Regions from separate parts of the Homo sapiens genome. Here region 1 is linked to region 2. The links are contacts of gene promoters, found by promoter capture Hi-C in blood cells and fetal thymus (Javierre and others, 2016). All regions are on one chromosome and are shown on one strand. Each heading gives the region's core, a stretch centred on a gene start or on the middle of the fragment in contact. The rest is flanking DNA. Distances are from core to core; before and after follow the strand shown. Region 1 overlaps RLF (RLF zinc finger). Region 2 holds the start of EXO5 (exonuclease 5).

The links. Contacts are between HindIII fragments. The CHiCAGO score rates a contact against its expected background, and 5 or more counts as called.
Region 1: a contact is called between a fragment that was not itself captured here and the fragment with the promoter of EXO5 in region 2, in 6 of 17 cell types (naive CD4 T cells, total CD4 T cells, naive B cells and 3 more). The highest score is 7.6, in naive CD4 T cells.

What each region holds. Positions count from the first base shown.
Region 1 is chr1:40,205,603-40,212,877 of GRCh38, forward strand. The region is part of intron 5 of RLF (RLF zinc finger); the gene reads left to right. Among named protein-coding and RNA genes, the nearest start is that of TMCO2, 39 kb to the right of the region's middle. The HindIII fragment of the contact is 168 bases long and covers 5,259-5,426 here.
Region 2 is chr1:40,504,805-40,512,117 of GRCh38, forward strand. It overlaps EXO5 (exonuclease 5), which reads left to right and starts at 3,963. Exons shown (of 4, transcript NM_001346953.2): 1 at 3,963-4,104; 2 at 4,647-4,821; 3 at 4,929-4,986. EXO5-DT (EXO5 divergent transcript) reads right to left here and starts at 3,891. Exons shown (of 2, transcript NR_187365.1): 1 at 3,785-3,891. RefSeq lists enhancers at 4,000-4,249, 4,280-4,369. The HindIII fragment of the contact is 5,200 bases long and covers 3-5,202 here.

The sequences.
Region 1 (7,275 bases), core at 4,093-6,592, 300 kb before region 2:
CCTCAGCCTCCCGAGTAGCTGGGACTACAGGCGCCCGCCACCATGCCCGGCTAATTTTTTTTGTATTTTTAGTAGAGACGGGGTTTCACCGTGTCAGCCAAGATGGTCTCCATCTCCTGACCTCGTGATCCGCTCGCCTCTGTTTCCCAAAGTGCTGGGATTACAGGCGTGAGCCACGGTGCCTGGCCCATTTTTCTTCTTTCAAGACATTCTAATATGACCTTTGCCCCTGGCAGTATACCATATCACTAAATCTAATGATGACTTTCAGTTTTCTGTCTACCTCATTGATTACTCCTTTCTCAGTTCTACTTTGCTGTCTGATGAGTACATGTTGCAGTACCCAATGACTCTGTCATTGGGTCTTCTCTTTTTACACTTAACTAGGCTTATTTCCTTCATCTTTGGCTTTAAATACCAACTATGGTCTGACTCCCAAAAGTTTTCTCTCCAGCCCTGTTCCCTCCTCCAAACTCCAGACCCATATCCAATTGCCTAATTACCATCTCTACTTACAGATTTAACATGTCCGTAACTAAGCTCTTGATATTCCTGATATTTGGACTTTGCTTTTATGAGGGTTTTTTTTAGTCCTCACTATGTGTTTGGCACCATGCTAAATGCTTTATATACTTTGCTACATTTAATCAGCACAATAGCTCTGAGGTAGCTCCATTTTATTGATGAGGAAAGTCAGGCTCAGATTAGGTTGTGTGCTTCAAGGTTACAAAGCTAAAGTGGTTAAGCTGGGATTCAAACCTGAGTTTGGTGTACTACCAGTAATATTATATTAAAGACATAGGATAAGGAATATTATCCTTGTTGGTATTTACCTTAGAGTTTATATGCCAAATGCTGTGTTAGGCATTGGGGTTCAAAGATGAATGCAGAAGTCTCTGGACTGGCATACTTGGTTTTACTGTTGGCCTCTACATTTTATCTTGAAAATAGCCAGAATAATCTCTCTAAAACTTGTCGTGCCATGCCACTTCTCTGCACACAATTATCTAATAGCTTTCCATCTTACTCAGAATACATTCAGAATTCTTTATTCTATGTGCCATGGGCCCTGGCTACTTTTCTAACGTTCTCTCACCTTATCTTGTAATCTTAGTGCCCACTACTCTCCAGCCGCCTTGTCTTTGCTGTTCTTTGAACAAGCCAAGGATGTTCCTGTCTTAGAGCTTTGTGCTTGCTATTCCCTCTGACGAGAATTGCCTTCCACAAGATAATTTGAATGGCTTACTCCCTTACCTCATGTCTGCTCTAAATGTTCTCATGTCTGTTCAATATTACCATATCAGAGAGGCCTTCCTCGCTGTCTCATCTAAAATATTACCCTAGCCCCCTACTCTGCCCTAAATATCTGCTGTCATTATTATAAATATATACTAACCCATTTAAAATGACCCCTATCACTTTGTCTTTCTGCCTATTTGTATTTTCTTCATAGTACACATTACTGCTTCTACTAGGCATCATATTTGATTATTCGGTATTTCCTCCCACTAGATTGTAAACTCCGGAAGGACAGGAACATAGGTTGTTTACTGGTATATCCCTGTATTCTAGAAGAATGCTTAGCCATGTAGGCACTCAATACTTATTGAATGAATTAATGAAAGGTATAGCCTCATCCCTTGATCTTTTGTTACTAGGATTTCTAGCTTTATTACCTGAGTTATGACCAGAATGTCAAAGCTGGAACATTCCACTCATGCTTTCTAAGTTTTTAAACTTTGCTTGGAGGTCTTTTTGAATTTTAAAATTGTGATTTTATATTTCTCTCTCTCAGCTTTATTTTATTTTGAAATATAGTTATGCTATCTGTATATTTATAAAAATAAGAACCAAGATGAAACCAAGTACAGTGTTGTGATTCAGATTTCTGTATAGGTTGATTGCATCCTGGATCAGTGCTTGGGTCAATAGTTATTTCAAATGGCTAAGACCCCCTGCTATGGCCCAGATCATATCTCCCACTGTGAGAATCTTTTATCAGATTTTTTTGTTGAAAATTGTTTTTTTTGGAGACAGAGTCTCTGTCGCCCAGCCTGGAGTGCAGTGGCGTGATCTCGGCTCACTGCAGCCTCCACCTCCTGAGTTCAAGCAGTTTTCCTGCCTCAACCACCTGAGTAGCTGGGATTGCAGACGTGCGCCACTACACCTAGCTCATTTTTGTATTTTTAGTAGAGACAGGGTTTTGCCACGTTGCCCAGGCTGGTCTCCAACTCCTGACCTCAAGCAATCTGCCTGACTCAGCCTCCCAAAGTGCTGGGATTATAGGCGTAAGCCACCACGCCTGGCCCCTTGTTGAAATTTAAGATGTACTTATATCTAAGATACTTCCCAGTGGCCAAAATACTGACTCCAGGAATTTGTGATTCTGTCCTGGCTCCTAGTAGTCTTTGCATTTCTATCAACTAACGTATTTTTTCAAGTGCTCACAGACTTTATTCTGGGATGGATATTGGGTTAGCAACATTCCACTTGGAAGCACTGTGGCCTGGTCTTTGAGATTTAGTAGTAACTTGAATCTGAGAGGATTGTCTAGGCAGGGAAAGTATAGATAGAGACAGAATGCTAGTCATCTTTGTTTTGGGGAATGACCTTACACAGGAGCACAGATACGGGATGCAGAGATGAAACAGCCAGTTGGTGGCTATGAAGTGGACAACATGTAGTTTCCTCAAATGGGGATTGAAGCTATGACCTAGGGCCTCATTAATAAATGTTCTTATTTGTTAGACTTTCTGGTGATAAAGAAATCAAAGGATAAAATGCTTTGCACTGCCTGTCTTTTCAGACTTTCTACTTGAATCTTAAATATAACTGCAGAAAACATTTATTGCTCACTTGTCTATTCCAAGCACTGTGCTGTGTGCTTTAAATGTGTCGGTATCTAATCCTTATAAAAATCTATTAATTTAGGCCAGGTGTGGTGGCTCATGACTGTAATCCCAGCACTTTGGGATGCTGAGGAGGGAAGATTGCTTGAGGCCAAGAGTTCAAGACCAGCCTGGGCAACATGGTGAAACCCCATCTCTACAAAAAAAAATGCAGAACTTAGCTGGGCGTGGTGGCATGTGCCGTAGTCCCAGCTACTCGGGAGGCTGAGGTGGGAGGATTGCTTGAGCTCTGGAGGTGCAGGTTGCAGTGAGCTGAGATCACACCACTGCACTGCAGCCTAGATGACAGAGTAAGACCCTGTCTCAAAAACAAAAAAACTTTGAATTTTATAGAAATTAACTGAGGCTCTGAGAGATGATATTACTGGCGCATAGTAGTAAGATGTCCAGTAAGTGGTGTGCCCAGGGTTTAAATCCAAGGTGATCTGCCTCTGCTTTGCTTTTATACATATTAATCTGACACTCACACATCTCATGTACATGATCCAACTCACTGTCACTGCCAACCTTCTGGTTCTTTCTGGATTCTGGTTCTTAAAGTAGACTTGTTGTGCAGGCAAGTTTTTATTTCTTTTGTTTACCCAGAGGGGAAACTTCAGAAAAGATGGGAGGGGACTTTGAAGTTCTGAGGCTTGTGGGTGGCTCATTACTGGACTGGATTTACTGAGGAGCTTAGGTAGAGTATGTTTTTCACAAGACATCTAGAGAAGTGAAAGCAACAATCAAAATATGTAGGCTTGAATCTTGACATTGTCATTTACTAGCCATACAGCCTTGGCCAGGTAGCTTTATTTTCCTTATCTATAAAGTAGGCACAACAGTAGTAGCCGTCTCACAAAATGGCTGGATAGTTTAAATGTGATAATATCTAAAGCACTTAACACAGTTCTTGGCATATTTTAGACACCTTACAAACATAGACCCTAGTATAAGAATTCTTTAAGCCTGGGGTGCAGAACTAGGGAGGATCCGTCGAAGTCAAGATTGATCAGAGGTGAAACCTGAATTTGCACAGAGAAACAATGTGGTATACACAGAGATAGCCTCCTATGACTTCATCTACATTTTTAAAAGCAGTCATATGGGCTGGACAGAGTGGCTCATGCCTGTAATCCCAACACTTTGGGAGGCCGAGGCGGGCAGATCATGAGATCAGGAGTTCAAGACCAGCCTGGCTAACATGGTGAAACCTTGTCTCTACTAAAGATACAAAAAATTAGTCAGGTGTGGTGGTGTGCGCCTGTAATCCCATCTACTCAGGAGGCTGAGGCAAGAGAATCACTTGAACCCAGGAGGCAGAGGTTGCAGTAAGCCAGGATCGTGCCATTTGCACTCGAGCTGGGGCGACAGGGCGAGACTCCGTCTTAAAAAAAAAAAAAAAAGGCGATCATAAGAGACCAACTATAAACCTGTATGCTAATTTATTTATTTGCAGTATCAGGTAGTGTAAGGAGATAGATTGCTTACCTCTAATAGCAGCTGCAGTATTTTATGTTTGGGAAAGTTAATCAGACTGAGATGTAGTAATGGTTATTCTCAGCACCTGACACATGCCAAAACAATTCAAAAGCAGCAGCAAAACACTACATTTTGGGTTTGATTCCTCATCCTGTAATAATAACAACTTTACTCTCTCAGCCTTTGCTTAATTAAAACCCGTTTTGTTTCTAATGTTGTATTAGGCATTGGCAAATACAGCAAACTGTATGGCCCAGTTTGTTTGCCAAAAATAGTTACAGAAAGAGAAGTACTAAGCTCAATGATTACTGCCCTAAATTCAGTAGAAGTGTAAAGATAGAGAATTCTGTGTTTATAGAAAAATTGATCCTTGAATTGGAGCTTTAAGTAATGGTGGGGTTTGGATGGGTGGAAAGAATGGTTTGGAGATGACTGAATGGTAGTAAAGCACAGGTACTAATGAGTACTTTGCAGGGATCCACTGGAGAATAAATACCCTGCTTAGGGCAGAGTGGTTATTGAAGTCTTGTGAGAAATAAGACCTGTTGGGGTTGGAAAAGAAGGGCTTGGAAACTCCATTGCATTAATGGTTAGATTTGATGCAGTAGAAATTAAGAAGGCTTTGCAGTTAGGAAGTGACATGTCTGAAGTGGTGTTTTAGGAAGACTAGACAGAAAGAATATGTATTATGTTTAGGACAAGAGATTGTAGCCAGCAAGAGGACAAAGGACAGGACTTGCTGACCGGGCAAAAACAGAGGAGGATGTACAGAGATACCTTCAAGAGGCTCATAAGGCTTCTAGCTTGGGAGACTGGAAGAATAGTGGTGCTCTGCTGCTAATTAGAAGAAAGAATGGGTGGAGGGACAAGGGAGAGTCTGGGAAGATGATAAGCTTTGTTTTATACATGATCTTTCCTGGTTTATTAATAACAATGTTTGGAAACAGGATTTTTCCTGATTGTGTTGAGTTTGCAGGGAACTGTGTTATAGGAAATACGATTTGATACTATTCACAACAGGGGGTTGGCACCCACCCAGCTACCTGTTTTTATAAATAAAGCTTTACTGGCACAAAGTCTTACATTCATTTCTTGTCTGTGGCTGCTTTTGTGCTACAGTGGCAGAGGTGAGTAGTTGTAACAGAAACTCTCTGGCCAGAAAAGCTAAAAATATTTTCTGTCTGTCCTTGTACGAAAAATATTTGCTAACCTCTGCTCTACAAGAATTAAATTTTCCAGTCTATTTCAGTGGTTTAATATCGGTTGGTCTAACCCTCCGTGTTCTACACGTGATGAAACTGAAGCCAAGCTGATAATGTTTCCAAGGCCCTTCCTGCATTAAGCTAATTAGAAAGGCCAAGCCCAGCTGGAATGCAGGTCACCTGGCTCCTTGGTCAGCCTTCTTTCCACTCTACCACCTATTTCCATGTGTTAGACATTGATAAGCCATGGTCTGATTGGGAACATCTTGGTGATATATCATTCTGTTCATATTTATACATATAGGTGTGATTTAAAACATTTTTATCATGATGTGGATTAATTTGTTAAATATACCAATGCAAAACATTTAGTACACATAAAGTTATCTTAAAATTATTTTAAAGGAACCCTAGTATCATCGTATCATCATAACTAGTCAGTCTTTTTTTTTCCTTTCTTTTTCTTTGAGATGGTGTTTCACTCTTGTTGCCCAAGCTGGAGTGCAATGGCGTGATATCGGCTCACTGCAACCTCTGCCTCTCGGGTTCAAGTGATTCTCCTGCTTCAGCCTCCCGAGTAGCTGGGATTACGGGCACGTGCCACCACGCCTGGCTAATTTTTGTATTTTTAGTAGAAACGGGGTTTCACCGTTTCTACTGGTGACCAGCTGGTCTCAAACTCCTGACCTCCTGTTATCCGCCCGCCTCGGCCTCCCAAAGTGCTGGGATTACAAGGCATGAGCCATCACGCCCAGCCACTAGTCAGTCTCTTATCCTAGTGATACTTTTCTTTTGCAAGTGTCAACAGAATTAAAAATAATCTGTAGTTTGCTTTGGAAAATTACTAGTGAGTCACCAGATGTTGATTAATTAGAGTTTAAATTCAGCATACGTTCTAAAGTAGCAGAGTTACACACATATTTGCCATCTACTTCACCTGAGTTCAGGAGAAGAGTTAACTTGAGCAACAGCTGGGAATAAAAGTACATTGTATGTTGGTACCTGGGGGTATCCCAATAATAGGCATATGTAATGGGAAACCGCTGCTGGGGAAGATTTAGCCAGACACATACAATTAAGATTAATTGACTGGGTCATCTGAAAGTCAAAATTCAGAACCTAGTGGGTAAAGAGTGAGTCCTTTCAGATATCTGGTAGGTCTGGAAGGCAGAAGAATTTCATGGAATCCTGGAGTTTTAGGTTGTGATACTTTATTTATGTAGAATTGAATGAGATGACATTGCTATTAACTTTACATATTAAAGGATTTTAATAAAAGTTATAGACTTGGCAGTGGCTCAGTGTCCCAAGTGGATGTTTCCTATATTTTTTCATTACTGAAAGGGGAAGTCTTTGCAAAGATCAGGTTTTCAACATAGAAAAGATAACATTTTAAACATCAAGCACTTCTATTTTAAAGAGCTCAAGAAATCTGTCAGCAGAGTTCTTGGCGCAGTTAAGGCAGGGGTCCGTTTCATTCTTAATCCCTGAATGAACTACATCTTCGGTATCTGACGTGGTTGATAGACACAATAGCAGATGGTTGTTTCTTTTCCTGATGGGGAAAGGAAAGGACAAACAGGATCCAATTTACTTACCAGCCTAACACTGTTGGGAATTGACACAGTCACTAGGTATAAATGATAGAGCAGATACCTTTAAACAGGACCCAGTGGGAATTCAGTTTGGGAGTAGAAGAAAAAGTA
Region 2 (7,313 bases), core at 2,713-5,212:
GAAGCTTGTGTAGGGGAACTCCCCTTTATAAAACCATCAGATATTGTGAGACTTATTCACTATCACGGGAACAGCACAGGAAAAACTCGTCCCCATGATTCAATTGCCTACCACTGGGTCCCTCCCATGACACATGGGGATTATTAAAATTCAAGGTGAGATTTGGGTGGAAAACACAGAGCCAAACCATATCACCAATATATCCAAAACATTATCATCTCAACATTTAATCAATGTAAACATTATTAGTGAGTTATTTAACCTTTTTTTTGTACTCAGCTTCAAAGTGCTTGTAAATGTTATAATTATAGCACATTTCATTTTGGACTAGCCACATTTCAAGTGTTCAAGAGCCACATATGACTAGTGGCTACTGTATTGGACAGTGCAGCTCTGGGAGTAATCACATAAAGACTTACTCCGATATATGGTAGACTGTAGTCAGTACAATGTTAGGGGTACAGTCCTGTGCTCCAAAACACCAAGGAGGGAAGAATGGACACAGAGGAAAATGGGCCATTTGTGTCTAACAGTATTTTGATGGTTACAGACCTGGAGATGGAAGAACCAAATCAGTGACTTTTGCATACAGGTGGGCCTTAAGGACTCAGACTTCCTAGGATAGCCTTTTGGGGAAAAGGGCATTCTTTTCTCAGTTTTGAGACCCACAGTCTTTAGGCTGAAAGTTTTGGGGAATATATGGTACTATGTTTTTGATATTTATTTTCCCCACAAATTCCATGACTGTTTCTAAATCTCTTCTGCTTCACTCTACCCAGTGTCATTGCCCCTCAAACCCCATTTGAGGAGTGGTCCATGTGTGAAGGGGTTGGGGAGGGGTTTTCCTGGCATTCAGTTTACATCTCAAGTAAGAAAGGTTATGTTGGGGAAGAGGCAGAAAGTTTTTGTAGCCTCAATCCAGAAATGCCTTCTCATATCTCAATGGATTAAAAAGCATTTCCTCAATGATATGGTTTGGTTGTCTCCCAACCCAAATCTCATCTTGAAGTGTAGCTCCCATAATTCCCACATATCATGGAAGAGGTACCTGGTAGGAGGTAATTGAATCGTGGGGGCAGGTCTTTCCCATGCTGTTCTCGTGATAGTGAATAAGTCTCACAAGATCTGATGGTTTTGTTTTGTTTCGTTTTTGTTTTTGAGATGGAATTTCACTCTTGTTGCCCAGGCTGGAGTGCAGTGGCGCGATCTCAGCTCACCACAACCTCCGCCTCCCAGGTTCAAGTGATTCTCCTGCCTCAGCCTCCCGAATAGCTGGGATTACAGGCGTCTGCCACCATGCTTGGCTAATTTTTTGTATTTTTAGTAGAGATAGGGTTTCACCATGTTGGCCAGGCTGGTCTTGAACTCCTGACCTTAGGTGATCCACCAGCCATGGCCTCCCAAAGTGCTGGGATTACGGGCATAAGGCACCACACCCAGCTGACCTGATGGTTTTATAAAGGTGTGTTCCCCTGCACATGTTCTCTCTTGCCTGCCACCATGTAAGAGGTGACTTTGCTCCTCCTTCACCTTCCTCCATGATTGTGAGGCCTCCCCCGCCATGTGGAGCCGTGAGTCAATTAAATCTCTTTCCTTTATAAATTACCCAATCTCAGGTATGTCTTTATTAGCAGCATGAGAACAGACTATTTAATACACTTAAATTCCATTTTTTTTTTTTTTTTTTTTTGAGACAAGAGTCTCAGTCAGCCACCCAGGCTGGAGTGCAGTGGCATGATCTCGGCTCACTGCAACCACCATCTCCCGGTTTCAAGCGATTCTCCCATCTCAGCCTCCCGAGTAGCTAGGATTACAGGCACCTGCCATCATGCCCGGCTAATTTTTGTATTTTAGTAGAGACAGGGTTTCACCATGTTGGCCAGGCTGGTCTTGAACTCCTGACTTCAGGTGATCCGCCCGCCTCGGCCTCCCAAAGTGCTAGGATTACAGGCGAGAGCCACCGTACCTGGCCTCAACTTACATATTTCTAAGAAAAAGAACATTTTCCTACATAACCACAAAATCATTATGACACTCAGGAGACCTATAATTGATTGATAATATTATCTAAAACACAAGTCACTTCAAAATTTTCCCAACTGACGCACCAGAGTAGCTGGGACTACAGGCACGTATCACCACCCCCAGCTAATTTTTGTATTTTTTGTAGAGACGTGTTTTCACCATGTTACCCCAGCTGGTTTCTGAACTGAGCTCAAGGGATCCACCCACTTCGGCCTCCCAGAGTTCTAGGATTACAGGTGTGTGAGCCACTGCACTCAGCCTGTAGTTGTCTTAATTTAATGTTTCTCTTTCTTTCTTTTCTTTTCTTTCTTTCTCTTTCTTTCTTTTTCTTTCCTTTTTTCTCTTTCTTTTTTTCCTTTTTTTTTTTGAGACAGAGTCTCACTTTATCACCCAGGCTGGAGTGCAGTGGCCTGTTGTCGGCTCACTGCAAACTCCGCCTCCCAGGTTCAAGTGATTCTCCTGCCTCAGCCTCCCAAGTAGCTGAGATTACAGGCACCTGCCACCACACTTGGCTAATTTTTTGTATTTTTACTAGAAACGGGGTTTCACTATGTTGGCCAGGCTGGTCTCAACTCCTGACCTCAAGTGATCCGCCTACCTGGGCCTCCCAAAGTGTTGGTATTACAGGCATGAGCCACCATGCCTGGCCAATTTAATGTTTTTCTATTTTTGTTTTAAAATATTTACCTATTCTGAAGTCCAAAGATATTTTCCTATATTATATTCTGAAGACTTTATAGTTTAGGATTTCACATTTAGGTCTTAATCCAGCTACAATTGATTTTTGTGATGAAATGAGAGATAGAGGTCCTGTTTTCTGTTTTGTTTTTTTTTTTGAGACGGAGTCTCCCTCTGTTGCCCAGGCTGAAGTGCAGTGGTGTGATCTCCGCTCACTGCAACCTCCGCCTCCCGGTTCAAGCGATTCTCCTGCTTCAGCCTCCTGAATAGCTGGGACTACAGGTGTGTGCCACCACACCCAGCTAATTTTTGTACTTTTTAGTAGAGACAGGGTTTCACCATGTTGGCCAGGATGGTCTCGATCTCTTAACCTCGTGATCCGCCCACCTCAGCCTCCCAAAGTGCTGGGATTACAGGCGTGAGCCACCGTGCCCGGCCTTCATATTGTCATAGAACCTTCACTGAATAGACCATCTTTTCTCCATGGCTGTATGATGCCACCTTTGTCATAAATCCAGTTTTCAAGTATGCGTGATAAACCGTAAAGAAAAGCAAAGAGTCAAGTATCTGCTTTTGGTAAAATAAATAAATAAATAAATATAAATAAGAAAAGCAAAGTGTTATAAAAGTCGGGCTAGTGGTTTTCTCAGGAAGTGTATCTGTGAAGAACCTGACACTATTCTTTTTTCGCTCTAATGACTTGGCTGTTCATAATTATACTTATCTTTGGTTTATATTTCAGAATAAAATTGTGTTATATTTATCAATAAAAGGTTAGTTAAAAGTAAGCAAACAGAAAAAAAAAAAGAAATATTGATGAGGGGAGCGCCAGCATCTCTCAAAAGTGAGTTCGTGGTTTTGCTCTCAATGGAAAAGCCGGCGGGAGGTGCTAAGGTGGGGATGCTGAATCCACGGATGGCCAAGCGGAGACGCGGCACTTCACCGGGGGCAGCGAGGGGCCCAGACCTTGCTCGGATTGTCCCGGTGGTAACTGGGAGACCTCGCCAGTGAGGGAAGTTACAGATCAGCTGCGCCCGGAATTAAACGACCCACAGACAACGGCGCAAACAGAGGGACTGACCTGCTTTAGTGAGCTCCCAAAACCTGCTCTCGCATAAGCACACCCTCCTCCGCTCACAGAGACGGATTTCTGCCCCAGCCGCAGCCTCGCGAGGTAGGCGGCGCCGCGAGGGCCTCTGGGAAGGCGGTCCGTGGGCAGCCGCGGGGCACTCTGGGACTGGGCTCTGGGCGGCTTTTTTGCGAGTGGCGGGCCGACTGTGTAGTCCGCTCCGGCAGCGCGCTCTGCCCGGCTTCCTCAGTCTCCTCGCCGGGAGCGTCCGGGAGCAGCTCCGAGGCCGCGGCGAAACCAGGTGGAGTCCGAGGTTCGGAGGAGTATCAGAGGTTAGGGGAAGGCCGGAGAATGGGCTGGGAGGCTGCGTTTCGGAGCTTAGGGTTCTGTCCCTGCGATCGCCGCGTCTCCCTCCCTTGGTGGGCGCGGCTCCCGGGAAGCGGCTCGTCTCGTCTCCCCTCACAGGCCGGGTTCCCGTTCTGGACCTTCGCCCTCGGAACACAGTGCTGTTGGCCGGGACTCCTTCCCGAGGTGGACGGCTCCCTGTTCTTATTCCTGGCTCTGCCAGAACTGTAGGAAGTGCTCAGTACACTTTAGGGCATGCATGGCACTCCCTGGGAGACAGTGCTTTAGGGCCAGAGGAAAGATCTTCCCTGAAGGCAAACGCCCGCGGAGCCCACAAGTCCGGGCCGCACTGAACAAGTCAGGATGTTGCCATCGGCAATTCTGCAGAAGGCAGTAACCCATCTGAGAGAAAGAGCCGCTGTCATAAGGTCTCTTGCTTGAGCTGCTGGGTTGAGAATGGAGCTGGAAGAGGGAACTGATCTCGGAGCTCCTTGGGGATCTTGGTTATGTCTGACCCTTTTACTTTCAGGGAGCAGGGATTGGATCAAGTCATTGCATCTAGAGTACGGGGGAACGAAGAAATCATGGAGAGAGTTTGCCCCAGGAGAGAGGCGAGCGTTATGTAACCTAGGATCTGGGGTGGGTAACAGTCTGTGCAGTGTCAATGTGAGAGGAGAAAACACCCAACGTGAGGGAATGGTCAGGTAAGAAAGGACCAGAAGTTCCGGTTCTACCATAGCAAGGACCTAAGTTGCTAATTTAGGTTCTTTAATGCAGACCTGGTCTTTCAGAACTTCTTTCTCTTCCCTAGCCTTGTCATTTCAGCATTCTGGCCTTCCCTATGAGGAGGAAGATCAACGAAGTCACAGGTGAATAGGAGTTTCTCTTCTAAAGTTTCATCTCCTTTGTCAGGGGGAATCGATACACTCTCTCATCTCTTCCTTGGGGAAAAAGAAGGAGATCTATCTTCATCGAGTGCTAATATGCGTACTATATGTTATCACTCAATGGTCGGATATCTCAGTAGGGTTAGTAGGTATTTTAAAAATGTGTCAGTAACTTCAGGAAAACTAGAACCTTGTCCAAGCTTACTCAAAAGGCAAGTAGCATACTACTAAATGCTACCGAACTACTCAGGATTAGGTTTAGAATCCATATCTGTAGGACTCCCAGACTCTTGGCATTATGCTGTTTCCCAGCATCCCATTCACTTACTACCTAACAATTTTGCCATACCTGTGTACTACCTGTATTATTCTATGTTTTTACTTACTTTTTTTTTTTATAAAAATCAAACTTGTCCTAAGAAACAATATCTGTGAAATTAGCCATTTGATGGCTGCTCCAATAACAGTATAGTTATTCTAAGGTGTATCTAAAAATGTTGGTCCATGTGCTATGTAAAATCGTCTCGTGTCAGACATACAAACTACAATTTGGGACACAATGCACTGCATTATGCTCTCTTCTGGATTCTTTTCTGCGTAGGAAAGTCCCAGACACATCTGAGCATCAGTCATCCATCCCTAGTGTACTGTTTTATTCTTATAGATGAATACTTTCACAGAGAATGCCCTGCTTTGTATCTTCTCCAAAAGACATTTCACTTCCCTGTTTAGAACTACCTGTTCTCAATGTTGTATGTAAAACAAGTAGGAACTCCATACATTTCAGGAGCTTCCTCTCTCTTTGGGGAGTTAATGTGTACACAGGAAATAGTCTAACTCTATGCTGTTCAGTAGAGCTTTCTGTGATCAGGGAATGTTCTGTATCTGTGCCTTATCTGTATCCACCAGCCAGATGTAGCTACTGAGCACTTAATATATGGCTAGTGCAACTGAGATGTGAATTTTATTTTATTTTAATTAAATTTAAGTAGCCACATATGGCTAGTGGCTACTAATGGCTACCATATTGGACAGCCAGGTCTAGATATTTGAAATAAAATATTTTAAGGTTATTGATTTGGACTTGGAGTTCCCCCTCACCCTCACAAATACCTCATAGCATATGTGTTATAAATGCCCTTTAGGGCTGGGTGCGGTGGCTCACGCCTGTAATCACAGCACTTTGGGAGGCCGAGGCGGGTGCATCACGAGGTCAGGAGATCGAGACCATCCTGGCTAACACGATGAAACCCCGTCTCTACTAAAAAATACAAAAATTAGCTGGGCGCGGTGGCGGGTGCCTGTAGTCCCAGCTACTCGGGAGGCTGAGGCAGGAGAATGGCGTGAACCCGGGAGGCAGAGCTTGCAGTGAGCTGAGATCCCGCCACTGCACTCCAGCCTGGGTGAAAGAGTGAGACTCTGTCTCAAAAAATAAAATAAAAGAAAAGAAAAAATAAATGCCCTTTAACTTTAGTTTCTTGGTGAAGGGTAAATATTCTTTCCAATTTTCAGAGACTTCATAGTTGAAATAAAGTTTCTTGAAATTATTTAAAGCACATTGACAGTTTATAACACTTGTGTAAATGCACAGCTTCTGTATTTTGTTACTATTGAAATATCCTGTAAAGCAATAATGTTGTAGGATACTCTATAAGCAAAAGTCTTACTATTGTATTATTTTTATTCATTGCAGATAACTTTTCTTCTAGCTATCTATGTTTTCTTTCATTAGTGACATTTAGACTATTTAAAAATCAGTTAAACACAACCACAACTGATATTAATGACGTTTTCAGGGCATCACTTCTTACGCTTTGACATAGGAGTTGGTGCATTCACCTTATTTCACTGCTTATTAGAATAGCAAGAAGGGGACATTTGGTTCATAGCTATCTCTATCAGCTAAAATTCTATGTCAAATTATTTATTTTCCTGGCACTCAAAGTCAAACACTAATGGACTGGTTGTATCTTGTTTTGCTTACTCTCTATGCAGGTTAGATATGTGGGGTTAGAAGGAAGGCTTAAAAAGAGTATCTTCATAAGATAATTTGCCTAGTTTCTTTTTTCTTTTTTCTTTTTTTTTTTTGAGACGGAGTCTCGCTCTGTTGCCCAGGCTGGAGCACAGTGGTGGGATCTCAGCTCACTGCACGCTCCGCCTCCTGGGTTCACGCCATTCTCCTGCCTCAGCCTCCCAAGTAGCTCGGACTACAGGCACCCACCACCAAGCCCGGCTAATTTTTTGTACTTTTAGTAGAGACAGGTTTCACCGTGTTAGTCAGGATGGTCTCGATCTCCTGACCTCATGAT